Regions from separate parts of the Homo sapiens genome. Here region 1 is linked to region 2. The links are contacts of gene promoters, found by promoter capture Hi-C in blood cells and fetal thymus (Javierre and others, 2016). All regions are on one chromosome and are shown on one strand. The core of a region is centred on a gene start or on the middle of the fragment in contact, and the rest is flanking DNA. Distances in the headings are between cores, read along the strand shown.

Region 1 (4,255 bases), core at 27-2,526, 1.3 Mb after region 2:
GCTCTGTCGCCCAGGCTGGAGTGCAGTGGCGGGATCTCGGCTCACTGCAAGCTCCGCCTCCCGGGTTCACGCCATTCTCCTGCCTCAGCCTCCCAAGTAGCTGGGACTACAGGCGCCCGCCACTACGCCCGGCTAATTTTTTGTATTTTTAGTAGAGACGGTGTTTCACCGTTTTAGCCGGGATGGTCTCGATCTCCTGACCTCGTGATCCGCCCGCCTCGGCCTCCCAAAGTGCTGGGATTACAGGCTTGAGCCACCGCGCCCCGCCAAATGATTGATCTTAAACATAAAAAAAGAATCAAAATAAAAAAATAAATGGAATAAACTCCCCAATCAAAAGGTAGAAATTATCAGACTGGATGAAAAAACAAATCCCTACTATATACTATTTATAAGCGATAGATTAGTCTGACAACACCTTAATTTACAACTTCATCATCACTAAAAGTGAAATAACCAGATATTATGTATCTATTAATAGGAAGTCCACAGCACCACCTGTGAAATATTTTCACCAAGAAAACCAACCCTGAATATAATTTAGCCTCAAGAGCTAACTATCAGTTTACAGGGATACAAAGGATAGGGAAATATGTTCAAAAACATCATGAAGATACAATTAATCAAAGGCAGAATGTGGAAAATATTCCAGGACAAATGACCTGACTTATTCCACAAATAAATGGTATGGGGAGAAAAGAGGGAATGGGAACTATTATCGGTGAAAAGAGTCTTAAGAGATACCAGCAAAAAATGGAATGTGTAGACCTTCTTTAGATCCTGATTTAAGCCAACTAACTGTAAAAAACACTTTTGAGATAACTCAAGATAACTGAACATAGACTGAGAATTAAATGACATTAAAGAATTACTGTTGGTCAGGCACAATGGCTCATGCCTGTAATCCCAACACTTTGAGAGGCCGTGGCAGGAGGATTGCTTGAGGTCAGTTCATGACACCAGCCTAGGCAACATAGCGAGACCTCATCTCTACAAAATAAATAAATAAATAGAATAAGAGATACAAGTACAACAATATGTCTGATATTTGCTTGAAGACACTCCATCCAGCAAGCCAGGTGCAGTAGTGTATGCCTAAAGTCCCTACAGATTTGGAGTCATTTCCATGCTAATACAAGAAATGGTAGGCAGAATTCTAAAGACATTCATACTCCTCCCCCTGGATTTCCATCCACTGATTATTCATTTAAACACAAATTTAGGAACTGTTATAAAGTGATTTTGCAGGTATAATTAAAGCCCCAAGTCAGCTGACCTTACAATTCAGAGATTATCCAGGTGGGCTGACCCAAACAGGTGAACCCTTTAATAGCAGTTTTCTCTGGCTGGTGGCTGAAGAGGAAGTCAGAGAGAATTGAAGAGTAAGGACTCACCATGCCATTACTGGTTTAAAGGTGGAGGGGCCATGTGAGAAGAAATACCAATGGCCTTGAGGAACAGAGAGCAACTCCTAGCAGACAGCTAGCAAGGAAATGGAGACCTCAGGCCCACAACCACAGGAACTGGATTTTGCTGACAATACGACAACATGAATGGGCCTGGAGGCAGATTCTTCTCCAGTGCTTCCGGGAGGAGCCCAGTTTGGCCAATGCCTTCACTTTGACCTCAGGAGACACTAAGCAGAGGGCCCAGGCAAGCCTGTCTAGACTTCTGACCTGCAGGATTATCAGCTAACAGCGGGGTGCGGTGGGATGCACCCATAGTCCCAGGTACTCAGGAAGCTGAGACAGGAGGATCACTTGAGCCCAGGAGTTCGAGGTTATAGTGTGCTATAATCATGCCTGTGAATAGCCACTGCACTCCAGCCTGGGCAACACAGTGAGACCCTCTCTTAAATAAAATAAAATAAAGAACTATAAGCCATATAAGCCAATAAGTCGGTGGTGTTTTAAGCCCCTACATTTATGGTAATTTGTTCTTCAGTCAAAGAAAACTAAGGCAGATATGAGAAACTTGGCAAAGGAAAATTGTTTAGTCTAGTTGTCCATACTACTATAATGAATAAAATGTAAATTCACTTTAAGACTGTTCCTGGTCAGGTGGTGGCTCACACCTGTAATCTCAACACTTTGGGAGGCTGAGGCAGGTGGATCACTTGAGCCCAGGAGTTTAAGACCAGCCTGGGCAACATGGCAAAACCCCATCTCTAACGAAAAAATACAAAAATTGCCAGGCATGGTGGTGCACACCTGTAGTCCCAGCTACTAGGGAAGCTGAGGTGGATGGCTTGAGCCCAGGAGACAGAGACTGCAGTGAGCCATGATCATGCCACTGCACTCTAGCCTGGGTGAGCCAGACTCTGTCTCAAAAAAAAAAAAAAAAAGACTGTCCCGAATCCAGGAAAGGTTTTAATCATAATGCATTTTCCTCACCAGAAGTCCAAAAACATGTATCAAAATTGCCTGATGTAGTGACTACCATTATTTAATACATGTGAGTGCCTTCCACCTTGAATTCCCTTATTATTAGCCACACACATAGGGGGGCACTTAGTAAGTACATGTGTTATTGGACAGTCTCACTCCCAGAGCTGAAGTAAAAGTTTCTAGATGATCTATGCTTGCTCTTCTTGACATCCCACTAAAAATAACTGATCTGGTATGATCCTTAACATACATTAGGCAAAAAAACAAAAACAAAAACAGATCTGTCAAACTGAAATAAACTTCTTTTTTTGAGACTGAGTCTCACACTGTTGCCTGGGCTGGAGTGCAATGGCGGGATCTCAGCTCACTGCAACCTCTGCCTCCTGGGTTCACACGATTCTCCTGCCTCAGCCTCCTGAGTAGCTGGGATTACAGGCATGCACCACCACACCCAGCTAATTTTTTCTATTTTTAGCAGAGTCAGGGTTTCACTGCACTGGCCAGGCTGGTCTCGAACTCCTGACCTCGTGATCCACCTGCCTAGACCTCCCAAAGTGCTGGCATTACAGGCGTGAGTCACCACGCCTGGCCAAATATTTCTTATATTGGATTAACCTTGGTTATCCTCAAATGAGCAAGAGTTAGTTTTGAACTACCCCAAAGGAATATAGTGAGGGGATGAAGGTTCTCCTGAACCACCCTGACCACCAGGACAAAAGCAGCCTTACCTTTGCATCTGGCACCTGAGCACCAAGGCTGCTGAGTCCCACGATGGAGTAGAAGGCAGATTCCAAATTTGTGAAAGGGCGATCCAGCGAGGCTTTTAGTCTCTCCACGTCATGCTTGGTGAGGTAGTGAGTGGGCGTCAGAGCCCAGGTGCTGGCTATGATTGTCAGGGCCAACAGGAAGACAGTGCTTGAACCTTGGGGGGAAACAACCATTCAGTACACTCTACACTCTTCCAAGGTGCTATACACAGTCCCAATGATGATGCACACCAAGATCTGGGAACCAAATCACATGGGGAAGGGCGAGGGAATCCAGGGGTTTAACCTGAGGAGAAGCCTTGGGAAGGCAGGGAGCCTGCTCTTCAACTGGTGGAAGGACAGTCCTCCCAGCAGCCTCCAAGCATCTAAAGCACAGGCCTTATCCTACTATTCCCATCTGAAAGATGTCTGTAAGTCCTCTGCCTCTAAGGACAAACCCAATCCTGAATCCTCACACCTTGCCAGCCTCTCAACCAGATCTCCTCCCTCGCGCTTCCCGCTATCTGTTGCTCTCTGGCTTCTTCTCTGTCCTCTAAGAAGCCAGGTTCTTTCCTGCTCAGCATTTTTCCATGTTTTTACCTCAACTTGGCTTAATTTTTACTTTCAGAATTCAGCTCAAGCACCTCTTCCTTAAGCAGCTCTCCCTAGGATTAGTTCCCCAGTACAATAATGTAAGGAAGAACCCAGACTCTGGGGCCAGGCTTAAATCACACCTCTGCCATTTATTAGCAATGTGCCCTTGGCAGTTATTCAACCAGCTGGTGCCTCAGTTTCCTAAAGTGTAAAGTGATAATAGTATCTACCTCAGGTACAATTACACGAGTTAATACAGAAAGATCTGGCCGGGCCAGCACTTTGGGAGGCCGAGGCAGGTGGATCACCTGAGGTCAGGAATTTGAGGCCAGCCTGGCCAACATGGTGAAACCCCGCCTCTACTAAAAATACAAAAAAATTAGCTGGGTGTGGTGGCAGGTGCCTGTAATCCCAGCTACTTGGGAGGCTGAGGCAGGAGAATCGCTTGAACCTGGGAGACAAGAGGTTGCAGAGAGCTGAGAATGCGCCATTGTTGCCAACCTGAGTGACAAGAGCAAAACTCCGTCT
Region 2 (4,046 bases), core at 444-2,943:
AGACCATAGTGGGTGGACTGCTTCAGCCCAGGAGTTTGAGACCAGCCTGGGCAACATGGAGAAACCCCATCTCTACAAAAAAAATTCAAAAATTAGCCAAGCGTGGTAGTCCCAGCTACTTGAGAGGCTGAGGTGGGAGGACTGCTTGAGCTCAGGAGGCGGAAGTTGCAGTGAGCCAAGATCATGCCACTGCATTCCAGCCTGGGCAACAGAGCAAGACTCTGTCTAAAAAAAAGAAAGAAAGAAAAGAAAAGGGTGTGTATATGCATATAGGAGAGAGCAGAAGTGTGTGCGTTTGGGTGGGATGGCCAGAACGTTCAGAGGATGGTCTAGGCAGACTTCCAGCATATGTAAAAACGACCCAGAGGTTACAGACGCTACACCTATAAGTACTGTATATTTAGGAAAATTGCAAACGAGCAGTTTGCATAAGATGCATACATTTTAAATGTTCCAGATGACTCAGAATCCCTGCAGAGAATTCCATCCCTAACAGTCTTTCACAAGGTGTAGTGGTCAGTCAACCTAAAGATCTCTGCGGGTGGAACCTGCAAGTTTAACAAGCTCCCAGACAATTCTCCTGCACACTTAAGCTGGAGAAAGAGAGATGCTTTTTGAGATGCAGAATTATCAAATTACATGCGGTTCCCAAACTTTGCTGCAAGCTGGAATCACTTGGGCATCTTTAAAAAAAAAATATTGAAGTCTGGCTTTCAACTCCAGACATTCTGATTGTTTTGGTCTGGGATGCCACATGGGCATCAGAAACCTTTACAATTTCCCCCAGGTGATTCTACAGTGTAGCAAAGTTGGAGAGCCACTGCCCTAATTGTTAAGCACTTGGGTCGGATGCTCCGGTTCAAATTACTAGCTATGTGACCTTGGGTAATTAAGTCACCCAACCACCCAGGGACTCAGTTGCCTCGTCAGTAAAATGGGGACAACAATCCTACCTCACAGGGTTGCTGTGAAGTTAGACGTGGAGAACGTAATGGCCTGGCATGATGCCTGGCGGATAAGAAGCGCTTAATGGGGGTTAGCTGTTTACTCCCATCATCAACTCTCCCTCATCAAAGTGTCACTGTGCAATGGGCAGCATCGTCCCCACTGGGCGGCAGCAACTTGCCTAACCTTTCTGCTGGACCAAATTCTTTGCGGGAGTTGTCTAGCTCCGCTCCAGACCCGCCCCCTCCCCCAGGTTGCCAGGAGAGAGCTTCGCCTGGCCGGGGTAGCTCCCAAGGATTAGACCGGGTTTACACAGACTCGACAGCAGCCGCCCACTCCAGGGCCAAGCTTTCCCCGCCCCCGTGGGTCTCCCAAAAATTTGCAGATGAGCTTCCAAAGGCCGGGCCCCTGGAGCACCCAGAGCCGAGAAACAAGCCTCAGCCGTCCCTTGACCGCCAGGTGGGGAAGAGAGGGAAGGAGAGGGGAGGGTCCGGCCGCGGCGGGGCCGGCTGCCCGGTTACCTGAGGCGACGGGCGGGGCCCGCATCGCCGGGGCGGGCGCCGCCGCCGGCCGTCCTCGGCCTTCCGCCTCACGCGACCCGCGCCATAGGGCTGGCGCTTTCACCGCCCTGGCCGGCCGTCCTCAGGCGGTCCGTCAGTCCACCCGTCAGCGACTCTCCCAGGGCGCCAAGGGACGACGAAGGCCACTCGAGCCAGCCGGCTGGGATCTGCTCAGGCAACTTCCGACTGCCAGGGGCGGCGGCGTCAAATAACTCCCCAGCCAAGTGGGCCACTGCGCGTGCGCGGTGCGCCTAATCAGAGCTTTCTACGGGGCTGAACCGGTGGCGTCAAATAATTCCCGAGACACAGAGCCGGAAGCTGCGCCTGCGCAGCTATCCCAGATCGCCGCGCGGGACGCATTGCGTTCCTCCCATTCCGGATCAAGTGGAGAGGGAGGAGTGAAGTGACGGATGCACCTACCTCATCGCGGCACAGAGGAGGCGCTCTACCTGCGTCCTTAGGAATCTTACGGCATCCACTCTACCTGCTTTCGGTGCAGACGGATAAGGGGCTTCTCTGCAAGATTCTGGCTCCCACCTAGGTTCTAGGAATTTCTCCCATCCCACCATTACAGCACTCTTCCTCTGAAATGATGCCCTTTGCTCGCCGCCGTCTTATTACACGGGCACAGCATTAATTATGAACAGTGCTCTATTCCAGGCCCGGTGTGGGTTACAAAGGTGAATCGAACATAAGATTTAGAGCCTCTCATTAAAGAGCTGAATCTGATCGAGATAAGACAGTAGTAATAATACTAAGAGATACTACTTCGAGCACCTGCCATGCGCTAGACATTTTGTAAACAGTACCACTTTCAATAATTTGCTTTCACTTCAACGAAGAAAATAATACCATTGGAGAGGTACAGCTTAAGTGCTTTGAGAATCTAAAGGAGGAAACTTGGACTGAGAAAGAAGAGGAGGGAGGGATGGTGGAATTCTTCACGGAGGACCTGGCCTTGAGACTGACCTTGGGTATTGAGAGAGGGAGGAGGGGTCAGGGTGTTGAGTAGAGGTGAAGGCACGGTTGTCTGAAAAGCAGAAGGGAGCAAAGAAGATTCTGACTCCTCACCTCAGTTAGAAGAGACTATGGAGGAATGAGTGATAAGGGAACTAGTATCCTCACAGAAAGGGTAAAACTGAAGAGTGTTTCCTCAAGACCACACCTCACCCCCCAGAAAAATAGCTACAGGAAGGAAGAGGGAAAAGGAGGGTAAGAATGTGCTAGGACAGGAACGAGGCTATGTCCAGGACACTGGATCCAAGCAATACATTTCAATTAAACACAGTGTGACAAATTATGTAGTTGGCTAACTCAAGATCTATTTCAACCACTCCCTTGCCTTTCTATACTACAGGGGCTGAAAAGCAAAGCACACAACTCTCAACTTTCTTTGCTGCTAAGGGTGGCAGTGAGACAAAGTCCTGGCCACTGAGATGTAGGCAGAAGTATCAAAGGAGACCTTCCCTTCCTTCTTCCCTTGGAGAAGTTTGTGTCCTTCACTTTTCCCCTGCTTCATGCTTGGAACTGGGTAACACCTGGGAGCACAGCAGCCTAGAGGCCATGAGGAGGGCTGTGCTGAGGAAGGTGGAGCAGAAAGACAGGAGCCTGTTTGTTTAAGTCATACTCAAGCAGCTACACAAACCCTGTACTACCTTCCTGTCTTATCGGGATGAGGGATCTTATATATACCAGAGTTTGTTGAGTTTTATGTTACTTGCAACCAGATGCATTCTAACACAATTAATACTGAACCCCTGTAACAGACAAGGGAGGGGTGACTAACTGGAAGAACAACGGGTGATGGGAATTGGAAAAGTGACAGGCACAGAGGATGGGAAAGCTGTCCCAAAGCCCTTGGGGAGATGATGAAAATACAGCTATCACCCTTCTAGTGGTTTCAATTCATTCCTGAAATTCTGCTTCTAAGTGGAAAGCTGTTAAATTTTTCCCATTAATTAAAATGGGCAAAATTGTGTTCAATTCCAGCCTAAGGCACCTAAATATTTTTAACAGAAAAAATATATTGATGCAACAGAAAATTATACAAACAAATAATTTTGCTTAAAATATGGTTTTTACATAACATGTAAGGCAGTAAGACTTACTGCTCTGGACAGAAAGACAAGATTTAATATTAGGTGCAAGTTGGTGGAGGAGAGATGCAAGTGAGTGGTTCTCTAAATGATGGTTTGTTTTTTTAAGACACAGGGCCTCGCTATGTTGCCCAGGCTGGCTTCAAACTCCCAGGCCCAAGCGATCCACCTGCCTCAGCCTCCCAAGTAGCTGGAACTAAAGGCACACATCACTGTGCCTGGCATAAAAGATATGTTTTTTCTGCACTCTTTGCTAATTTTTTAAAACTTTTGAAGTCTTCACTTAAACAAACATAAAAATAAAACACACATACGCACATATACCTTGAGGGAAAATTAAAGACTAAACATTAGAACACTTTGAAACATTTGAGAAAAGCACACATGTACAATAAACTTAAGAGACACATGAGATGCTACACATAGTAAAACATTTTGGATCTCC

What was found. Contacts are between HindIII fragments. The CHiCAGO score rates a contact against its expected background, and 5 or more counts as called.
Region 1: a fragment that was not itself captured here is called in contact with the fragment with the promoter of RALGAPB in region 2 in 1 of 17 cell types (erythroblasts); the score reaches 5.3 in erythroblasts.

Annotation. Positions count from the first base shown.
Region 1 is chr20:37,183,234-37,187,488 of GRCh38, reverse strand. RPN2 (ribophorin II) reads right to left here. Exons shown (of 17, transcript NM_002951.5): 2 at 3,116-3,309. Among named protein-coding and RNA genes, the nearest start is that of MROH8, 5.8 kb to the right of the region's middle. The HindIII fragment of the contact is 6,975 bases long and covers 1-4,255 here.
Region 2 is chr20:38,470,490-38,474,535 of GRCh38, reverse strand. It overlaps RALGAPB (Ral GTPase activating protein non-catalytic subunit beta), which reads right to left and starts at 1,693. Exons shown (of 30, transcript NM_020336.4): 1 at 1,467-1,693. RefSeq lists a silencer at 1,413-1,612 and an enhancer at 1,903-1,972. The HindIII fragment of the contact is 2,916 bases long and covers 1,296-4,046 here.